Linked DNA regions of Homo sapiens: regions 1, 2, 3 and 5 are each linked to region 4. Evidence: promoter capture Hi-C in 16 types of primary human blood cells and fetal thymus (Javierre and others, 2016). All regions are on one chromosome and are shown on one strand. The core of a region is centred on a gene start or on the middle of the fragment in contact, and the rest is flanking DNA. Distances in the headings are between cores, read along the strand shown.

Region 1 (2,700 bases), core at 1-2,500, 530 kb after region 4:
AGACACAGGTGTGAACAGAAGTCATCATCATAAAACTTAGTCAATCTCATATAAGTAATTACCTCAAAAAACAACCCCAAAGTCTCATTAGCCAGATAGTAAAATAGAAAGAAAACTAAGAGACAGATCCAAGAGATATAGGATTTTATTTGGAGATGAACTTGTGTTATAGCAAAAGGGTACGAGTTTTACGTTCAGAGTTCCAGCTCCCCTGCTTCCCAGCTAAGTGGCCTTGAGCGCGTTCCTTAACATTCTAAGGCTGATTTTTTTCATGTTTAAGTGGAAGAAAATAACACCCCTGCCTGGCAAAGTTGTTGTGTGATCAAAAAGATAATGTACATGAAAGCTCTTTGCAAATGGTAAAGTATTATGCAGTAATGAGTTATTATAATTCAGTCTTCTAACAGGGCACCATGGTATCCCTTTTATCTCTCCTACCACCCAAATGTCCTCTCCCCTGCAAACCTCAAAGTATTCTGCATGGAGCGTGTTGAGCACGTGTGTGTGTGCACACACACACGCGCACACACACACGGTGTTCAGGCATGTGTCTCTGCATGTCATTTTCATAGCTGTGTCTAGGCAAGACCTGTGAAATCTCCACGTCCCAGAAGCCAGTAAGAAAGCACCAGCTCAGAAGAGGGTGTAGCTCAGGGGTAGAGCATTAAACTGCAGATCAAGAGAAGGCACCAGCTCTGCAAAGCCTTCGCCATTAACAAAGAAGTGAAACCAACAAGCTTGAGACCCAGGGTTTCCCTTTATGCATGGCGGAAATTGGAAACAAACCATTTCTGGTAACCAGTAACTCTTAGTAATTAATAACGTAGCTCTTAGTAACCAGTAACTCTTAGTAATTAATAAGGTAGGAGTAAGAAAGTAGATGCCTGGAACTGACCTTATAAGTAAGAACTAGGCAGAAAAAGAACTGGCAGGAGATGAGGGAGCTGGGGAGAGACTGCAATGATCATCTAGTCCTGATTTCACAGATGAAATGGGGTCTCAGAGAAGAGAGTGGACTTGTCCAGGATGACACAGGGGCAAAGCTGGAACAAGAGCCCAGGTCTTCTTCCTCCATGTGAGCTATTATCAGCCATTCATTTTCAGTTCCATTTGGCTCCCATATTTCTGAAATAACCAAATAATAAGTCCAAAAGGAACTTACCCAAAAAATTTTTCTTGGCCACAGATGCTGGACCCAATAAGGGCCCCAATGAACAGTATCCACCTCATGTCCCCGGGGAGTCAGTCATACAGTGGCTGAGTCAAGCTGTATTTATAAAGAGTCTGAGAGTGACTCAAGTCCTCAAAAATGCTAATGTGATTCCCAAGCACCCTTGCAACTCTGACTGTGACAGGCAGGCCCTACCAATGCCTCTCCCATTCCTTTCAAGTGATAAAGGTTGAGCATCTCAATTTACAAGGTCAGGAACTTGCTCCAGGAGCTGAAAAAGTCTGTGCCAAGGGTACCATATTGCTCATCACTTGGCATTTAAATAGTGTTTTTTCAGTGAATAAGCTAATTCCACAGTGTTGGATGGAATTTATCCTGATAGGAGAGGTCAGATTATAAACCTGGCATAGAATTACCTCTAGAATAATAATAAAAAAGTTAAGACTATCAAAGCAAGACTGAGCTGGCTCCAAGACCACATGCTTGACAAGCCCTGCCAGAGAATTTCACCAGGGCAGGTCAGGATGAGGAAAGAGGTTTGGGGCCTCTTTTATGTATCTGAAGCCTAATTCTTCTGACTCCACTAAGGAAATAGAAATGTATCAGGCAAATGATATAGAAAGGATGTTTTAGTCTGAATAAATTATCAGTGTTCCTTGGGGTCTGATCTATGGGGAAGGCTTAATGGTTTTATCAATAATAAGATTTTCAGCCGGGCGAGGTGGCTCATGCCTGTAATCCTAGCACTTTGGGAGGCCGAGGTGGGCGGATCACGAGGTCAGGAGATTGAGACCATCCTGGCTATCACAGTGAAACCTCGTCTCTACTAAAAATACAAAAAATTAGCCGGGCGTGGTGGCGGACGCCTGTAGTCCCAGCTACTCAGGAGAATGGCGTGAACCTGGGAGGCGGAGCTTGCAGTGAGCCGAGATCGCACCACTGCACTCCAGCCTGGGCGACAGAGTGAGACTCCATCTCAAATAAATAAATAAATAAATAATAAGATTTTCTTATACTTCCTAGACTGTGGGTCTGGTGTCCTTTCCGCCAAGTCACAGCTGAATAAATGGAAGACACTCATATCTCCATAACGCCTTCAGGGGCTCTGGGACCTTTGAGTCTGTCCTGGGAGCCCCAGTTCCCACAGCCTTTCCCATCCCACCCTCCCTACGGTCTACATGCTTTCCACACCCACTCAAAGGGAGTGGACACAACCAAGGGTCATAGTTGAGAGAGTTAAAGAAAAACTATCCTGACCTGTGTTAAAATGTAAGACCTAATTCAAGATTATTATGATTAGGACCATGGCTATTTCAGTAGGAAAGACTTACTGTGCTTAACACTGAATACGGCAAAGAAAACAGAGAGGATCAGTGGGATTACTAAGAGAAGACATCAAGGTAGGGGGATTCTTGCTAAAAGCAGGCCAAGGACTTATACATCAAAGTCCCCATCAAAGGTGGGGATGAGGAACTTGATCAGATATCAAGGTGGGAGGGATGACTTCGCAGGATCTTTGCTCAGGCTGG
Region 2 (2,700 bases), core at 193-2,692, 770 kb after region 4:
GGAGCCCACAGGTAGGGTGCTGGAAGGGTAGGAGGTGATCCCACTTTCCTCTTTGCCCATTGTTTAGTCACATCAGTCTTCCAACCTGGGGTGTTGGAAGATTCTGTACAGATTTCTTCCCTTCAATCTCATCCGTCTCAGCTCCAGTACCTGATTTTTCTCAGGAGAATGTGCAAACTAAATTAGATTCTCCTATTATAACCTTGGTACATCCTTGGAGCACTTGTAATCATAATTTTAAAACTATAGGAAAATTTGACATCTAACTCCACCAAGATCTACAGCTTCTTTGCTCACGACTGTCATTGCTAGTGCCTAGAGACTATCAATAGGATGCTTTCGGCCGGGCGCGGTGGCTCATGCCTGTAATCCCAACACTTTGGGAGGCCGAGGCGGGCGGATCACCTGAGGTCAGGAGTTCAAGGCTAGCCTGACCAACATGGTGAAATCCCGTCCCTACTAAAAATACAAAAAAAAAAAAAAAAAATTGCTGGGCGTGTTGGCGAATGCCTGTAATCCCAGCTGCTCGGAAGGCTGACGTAGGAGAATCGCTTGAACCCGGGAGGCAGAGGTTGCAGTGAGCCGAGATCGCGCCATTGCACTGCAGCCTGAGCAACAAGAGCGAAACTCCATCTCAAAAAAAATAAATAGGACGTTTTCAATAAATATTTGTTGGACTAAGGAAGGAGTATCAATAGTGTCAAATGCCACAGACTTCTAAATCCATCCATAACACGGTTTCCAACAAGGATTCTAAATTATTTGCTCTCCAATGAGGGTCACCATTTCCTCGCTTGTAGAAAGGTGCAACTTAGGAGGGTCGTATGAGTTAATTTATTTTTATTTTTATTTTTTTTGAGTCGGAGTTTTGCTCTTGTCGCCCAGGCTGGAGTGCAGTGGCGCAATCTCGGCTCACTGCAACCTCCGCCTCCCGGGTTCAAGCGATTCTCCTACCTCAGCCTCCCTAGTAGCTGGGATTACAGGCGCCCGCCAGCAAGTCCAGCTAATTTTTGTATTTTTGGTAGAGATGGGGTTTCACCATGTTGGCCAGGCTGGTCTCGAACTCCTGACCTCAGGCGATCCGCCCACCTCGGCCTCCCAAACCGCTGGGATTACAGGCATGAGCCACGGCGCCCGGCCGTATTAGTTAATATTACTTGAAAATTAAGTTGAGCCCCTCATCCCTGCTGAATTTGGACTGACAGCGTTCTAAAAATCTCTTATCAACCTAAATATGCTAGTTGATAAAGGAAACGATTAATCAAGATTGTCCTAAACAGTACAGCCCTCCTTAAGCTCGCTCTAAGGTTCTAAAATGATGAGAAAAGGCGTGGGCCCCGCGGTTAGACTTTCCCAGCCAGGCTGCCTCAAGAGGCGGATATTAACCTCCCAGGACGGAAGTTCCGGAGCCTTCAAACTCTCGGGGAAGCAACTCGGCAGCGGACCAAGATGGCGGCGCCCTGTGAGGGACAAGCGTTTGCCGTAGGGGTTGAAAAGAATTGGGGTGCAGTAGTTCGCTCCCCAGAAGGGACCCCCCAGAAAATCCGGCAGCTGATAGATGAGGGGATTGCCCCGGAAGAGGGAGGCGTGGACGCGTGAGTTCACGAGTTAACCCTGGGTCCGGCGTTGGAAGATTGAAGAAGGCTTGGGGAAGGGGTGGCGGGTTGGGGGAGGTTCCCCTCGGTCGGCGACTCGGGCAGTGGGGATGGCTTCTTAGAATCTGAAAGAAACTCTGGTTACTATGTTTGATCGGCTTTGATCTTCCCCTCGGGGTGTACCAGATTCCCAACCGCAGCCGAAATTTTGTCATCGGACATTATTTTTGGAAGTAAAGAGGACCGTTAACTGAATGAGTTCACTTGACTTCTCTTAATTGGGGATTCTTAACCTTTTTTTGTGCCGTGGACCCCTTTGGCTCTCTGGAGAAGCTTATTAACTCTCAGAATATTTTTAAATGCTTAAAGTAAATTACATAGGATTATAAAGGAAACCAGTTAGATTGGAATGTAGTTATCAAGATGGTAAAAGGAAAAAGTTACGCAGTAACAATGCTTTTTATTAAAGAGTCCATAATATCTAGTAGTATGTGTTGTCAACCATAATTTTGAAGTAGTGATGAGCACAAAGGTATTTGAAGACATGCAACCACCATAATGTGGGAACATTATTTCCATTGGTGACAAATTAGCAGGTACTGCTAATACTACTATGGTGTTTTTACCTTCATTCATAATTGAAGAAAATGCTAAATCTTGTCATTTAGAGAGAAATAAATGTCATTTTTACCCATCCAAGTTTATGGATGCTGTGAATTTTTTTTGGCCTAGAACCACACCCGCTTGAGGCTCTCTATGAATCTCTGAGAGTCTTAGAGTAAGTTTATTTCTTTTGAGCTATAATCGTTGATGTAATCCTATTTTTATTAAAATAATGCCTGTCGCCGGGCGCGGTGGCTCACGCCTATAATCCCAGCACTTTGAGGAGGCTGAAGCGGGCAGATCACGAGGTCAGGAGATCAAGACCATCCTGGCTAACACGGTGAAACCCCATCTCTACTAAAAATACAAAAAATTAGCCGGGCGTGGTGGCCCGCGCCTGTAGTCCCAGCTACTCGGGAGGCTGAGGCAGGAGAATTGGTTGAACCTGGGAGGCGGAGGTTGCAGTGAGCCGAGATCGCGTCACTGCACTCCAGCCTGAGTG
Region 3 (2,700 bases), core at 17-2,516, 620 kb after region 4:
TCACTTTGAACAATTTTCCAGTTAGTTCATCTCTAAATCTAAAACTAGAGCAAAACAACATTGCTGCTAAAGCAATCTAAAAATGATAAAACTTAACAGCTCTTCAAGAGCACAGCATACCTGCCGATTTTCATTAATATACAATACCACGTGGTATTAATCTTAGGATCATTTTAGGAAAAACTTTGGCCATTGGACATACATGATGTAATCCACTAGCTTACTGTGGCATGGCTTAATGTTTTTATTAGGAGGCACACTTCAGAACAAGTCCCCAGGCCCTGGGTTTCTGGCTGTGGACTCTAACGCGTCATCTCCTCCAGGAAGCTCGCGAGAGCTGGGGCTGGGCTGGATGCGCCTCCTTGGGGAGCACTGCATCCACCTCACCTGCCACCGAAATGCATCTGTGGGCCTCCGCTGGGGTTGAGCTCCTCTGGGTAATAACCAGGAAGGTCTTATTTTCTATATCCGTGCGCCTGGCTCAGCGGCACACTTGTAGGTATTTGTGCTAAATAAAACAAAGCTCAACCTTTTCCTCAGGATGAGCAGCTCTTCCAAAAAATACATACGAAAATGTGTTATTATTTTTAACCTCAAAACCACTAGCAACTTCAATAAAACAAATTTTGGGTGTGCTTGTTATTGCTGCACCCTATTAAACAGATTAAGAATTTAGGCCGGGCGCGGTGGGCCACGCCTGTAATCCCAAAAGGCGGTGGGAGGCCAGCAGGCGTTTGGGAGGCTGAGGCGGGCGGATCCCTTGAGGTTAGGAAATCGAGACCAGACTGGCCAACATGGCGAAACCCTGTCTCTACCAAAAAAAAAATTACATGGGGTCAGGACTCTTGACATAGATACTTTAACACAGGGGAAAGAAATGCTTTGTCACTGATGGTGTCTGGCCACTTTATCACGCCACTCTATCCTACGGTGAGCCGCCCTACTTAATCAGTTTACACATGTGAGTCCATAAATGCCCTAGGGAAGCTAAAATTATATTAATAGATACAAAATTCAGCTTGTTACAATTATTACTTTTTACTGCGGGTTCAGAGCCTGGTCTGAATTTTGCTGCTTAGCTTTCTCCCGCAGCTGAGTGGGAGCCGCAAAACCGAGACCTGTTTCCCTGGTAACGCTCCGAGCGCCTGGGCCTGCGACCCCTCCCTTTCTCGCGAGAAGAGACTACCTAGTTCTTCCGGTAACTTTAGAGCCGCTTGCCGGTGGCCTCCCGCTTGAGCTTGGCTTTGCGCATGCCCAGAGAGAGTGGCGCGAGCCTGCGTTTTCCGGCCAGAGGACATGGTGCGTTTTCGGGGTCGTGTTTGTGCTTCCTGTCTTGGAATCTACGCGGGTTGTGGGAGTTCCGCGCCTGCTGATCTGTCCTGGGTTCAGCCAAGGGGGATGTGGCTAGGCGTTCCGCCTCTCTAGGGGAAGGGAAGAAAGAAGCAATAGGGTTGCTGAAGTTCGTGCCCAGGAGCCGGGGAGGGAAGCTCTGGACTGGGAAATTGGGACGCGGGGGCTGAGTGGCGCGAAAGCTATTGCTCTGTCCTCTGTGGGATACGACTGCTTGTCGCTGGAACAAGTTTTGCACGGTCTGTAAGAGTTGAGCCTAGCTGAAGAAAGGAGGAATTATAAATCCCAAATGTGGACCAAAACAATGCACGTTTTCCCCTCTCTCCCTCTTACTCCGCTCACCACCCCATCATAAGTACGTGCCCTTCTAAAACTTGGATCCTTGTCCTTTATCCACACACAAAAGGGAGAGCCCTGGAGTACAGCTGTCCAAGTGCAGAGTTGTTGAGATAGTAATGGCGTCTGCATGAGGATGTACAACAGTCTTTATGACTTACAGCAGATATGGAATATAGTCTCCCAAAACTTGACATTTTGAGTTTCTGAAGTTAGCCTTTTGCCTAGTCCGTGTAACATACCCCAAAGACAAAATACAAAGTATTTCTAGACATAACCCTTAAATTACAAAATAAGACATTTTTATGTATTGGAAGTATTAAATTGTTCTTAAATAACCAGCCACGGCTGGGCGCGGTGGCTCACGCCTGTAATCCCAACACTTTGGGAGGCCGAGGCGGGTGGATCACAAGGTCAGGAGTTCGAGACCAGCCTGGCCAAAATGTTGAAATCCCGTCTCTACTAAAAATACAAAAATCAGTCGGACGCGGTGGCGGGCGTCTGTAATCCCAGCTACTCGGGAGTCTGAGGCAGGAGAATCGCTTGAACCCGGGAGGCGGAGGTTGCAGTGAGTCGAGATCGCGCCACTGCATTCTAGCCTGGGAGACAGCAAGACTCCGTCTCAAAACAAATAAATAGATAAATAACCAGCCACTTCTCTGTTGATTACACTGTGATGCCAATTAAGTTACATATAATTTTGGGTTCCCTTTTCATATACTGATATTAAAATGGAAGAAGTTTTGATAAAACATTTTAAAGATGAGAGAAGGTATATGCGGTTTCAGTTACCTTTATAAGGGATGCAAAATTTGGTTTTTAAATGGAGCAATAGTTTCTTCTGGTTAATTCCTGTGCTTTTTGTTTTTTCATAGATGCAGGGGGAGGCACACCCTAGTGCTTCCCTTATTGACAGAACCATCAAGATGAGAAAAGAAACAGAGGCTAGGAAAGTGGTCTTAGCCTGGGGACTCCTAAATGTATCTATGGCTGGAATGATATATACTGAAATGT
Region 4 (2,700 bases), core at 43-2,542:
GAAATATTTTTTACTGGTTCCTCTGAATTGACAGTGAACCTGTCTATTATAAATGACATACTGTTTTGTTATTTGTTTTGACTTCAATTTATCCACCAAAAGCTTCATTTGTGTATCATCAAAAAAGTTGTATGTTTCAACTGAAAGAAAAAAAGAGAGAAAGATTGAAATAAAAATGTATAAAGAATCACTGATCTGTGGGACAATTTGAAGTGATCTAATATATATAATTCAAGTCCCGGAAGAATAGGAGAGAGAGAATGGAGAAGAAAAAATACTTTAAAAAATAATGACCAACATCTTCCCAATTTGAAGGTGAACAAACCCAAAGCACCACTAAGCTAAGGAAACCCTGAGCAAGATGAACAAAAAGAAAACTATGCTGAGGCACATACATAAATGTCAAACTGCAGAGAACCAAAAATAAAGAGAAAATCTCAAAAGCGGCTGGGGGAAGGGGGAAGGCAGAGAGGGATATATCACAGTACATACAACAATAAGAACTATGGCTGACATCTTACTAGAAACAATGGAAGCAGGCTGGGCACAGTGGCTCATGTCTGTAATCCCAATACTTGGGGAGGCTGAGGTGGGTGAATCACTTGAGGTCAGGAGTTCAAGATCAGTCTGGCCAACATGGCAAAAACCCGTCTCTACTAAAAATAAAAAAATTAGCTGGCCACGGTGGCATGTGCCTGTAATCCCAGCTACTCAGGAGGCTGAGGCATGAGAATGGCTTGAACCTGGGAGGTGGAGGTTGCAGTGAGCCAAGATCGTGCCACTGCTCTCCAGCCTGGGTGACAGAGCTGGAAAAAAAAACAAGAAAGCTGGGCATGGTGGCTCATGCTTGTAATCCCAGCACTTTGGGAGGCCAAGGCGGGCAGATCACGAGGGCAGGAGATCGCGACCATCCTGGCTAACATGGTGAAACCCCGTCTCTACTACAAAATACAAAAAATTAGCCAGGCGTGGTGGCGGGCACCTATAGTCCCAGCTACTCGGGAGGCTGAGGCAGGAGAATGGCATGAACCTGGGAGGCAGAGCTTGCAGTGAGCTGAGATTGTGCCACTGCACTCCAGCCCGGGGGACGGAGCGAGACTCTGTCTCAAAAAAAAAAAAAAAAGAAAAGAAAAGAAAGAAACAATGGAAGCCAAAAAGCAATGGGAAATCTTTAAAATGCTGAAGAAAAAAAAAGTCAACTAGAATTTTAGAAAACATATCCCTTCAAGAAGAAAATAAAAATAAAAATATTTACAAATAAGTAAAATCTGATAGAATTTGTTGCCAGTAGACCTGCACTACAAGAAATGTAAAAGGAAGTACTTCAGGATAAAGGAAATGCAATACCAATTAGTAACAGATCTATAGGAAGAAATTAAGAGTACCAAAAACAGTAAACACATTGTTTAAAATTTACTTGTTTACTTAACTTCTTTAAAGGAAAACTGACTAAAATAAAAATAAGAATACATTGTGTGGTTTACAAGATATGGAAAGTTTACATACAGATATGTTGTACTTAACAATAGCAAAAAAATAAAAACAGGATGGAGGTTATTAGAAATATAACATTATGGGCCGGGCGCAGTGGCTCACACCTGTAATCCCAGCACTTTGTGGGGCCGAGGCAGATCACAAGGTCAGGAGTTCCAGACCAGCCTGGCCAATATGGTGAAACCCTGTCTCTACTAAAAATACAAAAATTAGCAGGGTGTGGTGGTAGACACCAGTAGTCCCAGCTACTCAGGAGGCTGAGGCAGGAGAATCACTTGAACCCAGGAGGCGGAGGTTGTAGTGAGCCAAGATTGGGCCACTGCACTCCAGCCTGGGAGACAGAGCAAGACTCTGCCTCAAAAAAAAAGAAAGAAAGAAAGAAATATAACATTATGGCTGGGCGCGGTGGCTCACACCTGTAATCCCAGCAGTTTGGGAGGCCGAGGTGGGTGGATCACCTGAGGTCAGGAGTTCAAGACCAGCCTGACCAATATGGTGAAACCCCGTCTCTACTAAAAATACAAAAATTAGCCAGGCATGGTGGCATGCGCACCTGTAGTCCTAGCTACTCGGGAGGCTGAGACGGGGGAATTGCTTGAACCCGGGAGGCGGAGGTTGCAGTAAGCCGAGATCACACCACTGCACTCCAGCCTGGACGACACAGCGAGACTTCATCTCCAGAAAAAAAAAGAAAAAAGAAAAAAAGAAATACAACATTATAATGTTCTCAAATTATAGGTTAAGAGATACTATATTAACTCACAGGAGACTATGATGAGTTGGATATCTGTACCATAACCCTAGAGTAACCACTTAAAAGGGGCATAGCTAAAAATGAGAAAGGGGGATACAGTGGAATGCTAAAAAAAACTGATTAATCTGAAATAACGCAGGAAGAAAGAACAAAGGGAAAAAGAGCAGCTGGGATAGACGAAAGAAGATAGTAAGATGATAGGCTGAAACTCAACCATGTCAATAAGAAGCTTTCTGACTAAAAGCGAAGATTGTCAGACTGGATAGAAAATAAGACTCGACTATATTCTGCCTACAAAGATGAACTTTGAATATAAAGACATAGATACACTGAAAGTAAAGAGGTGCAAAAATATGTAAATACTAATCATAAAAAAGCTAGAGTGGGCCGGGCACGGTAGCTCACACCTGTAATCCCAGCACTTTGGGAGGCCGAGGTGGGCGGATCACGAG
Region 5 (2,700 bases), core at 24-2,523, 550 kb after region 4:
GAAGGAATCAATACAATGAGCCATGTACAGGGACCAGAATATGGGTCTTCTGAAACCAAGCTCCATGCAATTTCCTACGAACTCCAGTGGAATACAGAAGTGATGGAATGTGAGCTCTTCGAGGCTCACCTGCCACAAATGGTCTGAAAATTCTTCCATTTAAGTCTCATTATTTTCGGTTAATGCATGGACTCCCAGGAGTCCTCCTTTAAAATGGGAAGGCACTGAGAAAAGTAATACAACAGGGTCATATTTCCTGGTGTGTGTTCTAAAGAATAGTAGTTCTTTGAGTTACTCAGTGAAAGAAAGAAAGAAAGAAAGAAAGAAAGAAAGAAAGAAAGAAAGAAAGAAAGAAAGAAAGAGAAAGAAAGAAAGAAAGAGAAAGAGAAAGAAAGAAAGGGCAAGCTGGGAGCAGTAGGTAGTTTATGATTAAAAAAAAGAGTACATGCTGCAACCTAGATCCCCTCTTATAGATTTATAATGCACACTGATTTAGCCAAGGCTCCTAGAAATCCTATAGTTTGTTTAATCCTCTGATTCCCACATTTATTTGACCAGTGGCTTTTTGGGACCAAACTTATTTGATTGCTTTCTTAGCTCCCTGGACCACTCTTCAAAAAATGCTGCCTGAAACCCTTCATAGAATCATGAAGCAAAGTACTTTGGAGCAAAGATGAGTCCTCCAAAGCCAGGAGAGGAGGAGTTGAGCTGAAATCTATAGCCCTGGCCTTTCTACTTCATGAGGTTCCACCACCTAGGTGCTGAATCTAAAGATCGGGGGTTAGGGCACAAGGGCTAACGTGGATGGTAAAGCCCAGAAGAGCAGGAGGAGGTGGGAGAGTAGCATTGACACCCGCTGAGTTGCCTGGAACAAATGGCCACACAGCTGTATTTTCCCTGATGTCTATCATCCCTACAGTCTGATCACTGGAGGGAAAAATGAGTAAGGACAGAGAGAAATAGGGTTATGTGTGTTCAGTTTTCACTTTTGTCTTTTCCTTTAAATGTCATTCACCTCCTTTTTGATCATCCACTCCTTTTTTTCACACTATTGACTTATCCCCAAATCTAAGAGAACTTCTCTGAAAACACTGAACACTTATACCCATTTACTCTGTAACAATCAAAGCCTCCATCAATCAGGTAAGTAAAATTCAAAGAAGCACCAGAAAGCATAACTTACCCCACAAATGTTTCTAGACAGTAGATATGCCCAAAAAGGGCACCAAAAAACAGGATCAACCTCATGGCCATGGGTTTTCCTGGAGTCCAGAATTCAGAGTCCTTCCTGAACTTTATTTGTAGGGATGGCAGCTGAGGGTGATCTGCTGGCCTTCTGAGAACTCACGTGAATTCCCACATGGGAAAATTCCCACCTGCATGTGAAATTCTCAAGGTTGTAGACATCCACCTGTGTGATATCACCAATGTGTACATGTTCCATTCCTAGGATAAGATAACAAACTTTGATGGAAAGAGAACAAAATTGCTAGAGCATACCAAGGGCAATATAGTTATGATTGAGACCATAAAACGCCACTAGCTACCCTGTGATAGAAGCCAGATTAATAGACCTAGAGGTTAAAGTCTTTTCTGGGTCTCTGACACACACACAAAAAAAAGGCCAGAGCATTTATAGTAATTACTCAGGCATCCTGTCTATCACATTCCATTAGTTTGCTCATTTGTTTATTTTTATAATGTTTACCTTGAAACACTGCAGTCACTCAGTCCACATCTGCTGAGTGTCCCTGTAGATGTGGCCCATTCCAATCCTCACTCTACATTAAAACAAAACAGAAGGCCTTTTAATATTCAATTTTGCACTTTCTCGAAAGTGATCCATCTGCATTTGCACCAAATTGATATCCCTCTTTCTGTGCTTTTTCCCAAAATGAAAATGTCTTTCTGATGACATTTCCTATAACAAGCAACAATGAAGTTGCTTGTTATAAAAAGTGTGAATTAAAAGAAAGTGTTTTCTTTAACCATCAATAATTCTTCCATCCAAAGAAAACCATTTGGCATATGTCTTTCCAAATTTCTTTCTCTGCTTTCGAGTTTTTTTCTTAAACAAAGATTAGACCATATCACGTATACTGTTCTTTAAACAAAGGTGATCTTTTCTTGTTCATAAACATAGATCTACATTAATCTGACTTTGTTCTTCATTGCTTAAGAAGAAAATATAACTGCTTATTTTTAGAAACCATAGTTTATTTAATTTTAGTTGTTCATACACGTTATATTAAGCCTAGAAAGCCTCAACCACAACAAGCAGCAAGGAAATTTTCGTCTGTCCTTTGTGTGTCAAATTTATCAGCACACACTTTAAATCTCTGGGTTTGCATTCTCAAATATCTGCTTTAAGGGGAAAGGTATATACACAGTGTTTCTGATTTTAAGAATGACTGGATTAACTTGGTTTTTCATTCTCCTGGGAGTCAGAGAGAAGACAGAAACCAAAAGGCAGAGGCCATAATTCATCCTCATGTCTCCAGCACCTATCAAATAAACAGTAGTTCAATAAACTGGAAGTATGTACTTGGAGAATCAATAAAAGCTTCCTGGAAAAAATCAAGTTTCAGGCTGGGCTCAGTGGCTCACGCCTGTAATCCCAGCACTTTGGGAGGCCAAGGCAGGTGGATCACGAGGTCAGGAGATCGAGACCATCCTGGCTAGCATGGTGAAACTCCGTCT

The links. Contacts are between HindIII fragments. The CHiCAGO score rates a contact against its expected background, and 5 or more counts as called.
Region 1: a contact is called between the fragment with the promoter of CPA4 here and a fragment that was not itself captured in region 4, in 8 of 17 cell types (M1 macrophages, M2 macrophages, M0 macrophages and 5 more). The highest score is 8.6, in M1 macrophages.
Region 2: a contact is called between the fragment with the promoter of ZC3HC1 here and a fragment that was not itself captured in region 4, in 6 of 17 cell types (fetal thymus, M2 macrophages, megakaryocytes and 3 more). The highest score is 7.9, in fetal thymus.
Region 3: the fragment with the promoter of TMEM209 here is called in contact with a fragment that was not itself captured in region 4 in 1 of 17 cell types (M2 macrophages); the score reaches 5.5 in M2 macrophages.
Region 5: the fragment with the promoter of CPA2 here is called in contact with a fragment that was not itself captured in region 4 in 11 of 17 cell types (M2 macrophages, endothelial precursors, M1 macrophages and 8 more); the score reaches 10.6 in M2 macrophages.

Annotation. Positions count from the first base shown.
Region 1 is chr7:130,291,711-130,294,410 of GRCh38, reverse strand. It overlaps CPA4 (carboxypeptidase A4), which reads right to left and starts at 1,250. Exons shown (of 11, transcript NM_016352.4): 1 at 1,163-1,250. The coding sequence starts at 1,230. RefSeq lists an enhancer at 756-845. The HindIII fragment of the contact is 9,413 bases long and covers 740-2,700 here.
Region 2 is chr7:130,050,116-130,052,815 of GRCh38, reverse strand. ZC3HC1 (zinc finger C3HC-type containing 1) reads left to right here and starts at 1,442. Exons shown (of 10, transcript NM_016478.5): 1 at 1,442-1,595. The coding sequence starts at 1,450. RefSeq lists enhancers at 1,129-1,318, 1,379-1,688, 1,316-2,108. The HindIII fragment of the contact is 10,065 bases long and covers 1-1,930 here.
Region 3 is chr7:130,203,972-130,206,671 of GRCh38, reverse strand. It overlaps TMEM209 (transmembrane protein 209), which reads left to right and starts at 1,266. Exons shown (of 15, transcript NM_032842.4): 1 at 1,266-1,299; 2 at 2,562-2,698. The coding sequence starts at 1,297. It also overlaps a transcript of SSMEM1 not described here. RefSeq lists enhancers at 1,002-1,111, 1,172-1,351, 1,028-1,827 and a silencer at 2,489-2,700. The HindIII fragment of the contact is 16,046 bases long and covers 1-2,700 here.
Region 4 is chr7:130,819,903-130,822,602 of GRCh38, reverse strand. The region is part of intron 3 of LOC105375508 (a long non-coding RNA gene); the gene reads right to left. All of the region lies in intron 2 of LOC105375509 (a long non-coding RNA gene), which reads left to right. It also overlaps the pseudogene LOC347674. Among named protein-coding and RNA genes, the nearest start is that of MIR29A, 56 kb to the left of the region's middle. The HindIII fragment of the contact is 2,375 bases long and covers 105-2,479 here.
Region 5 is chr7:130,265,436-130,268,135 of GRCh38, reverse strand. It overlaps CPA2 (carboxypeptidase A2), which reads right to left and starts at 1,273. Exons shown (of 11, transcript NM_001869.3): 1 at 1,184-1,273. The coding sequence starts at 1,254. The HindIII fragment of the contact is 5,023 bases long and covers 1-2,565 here.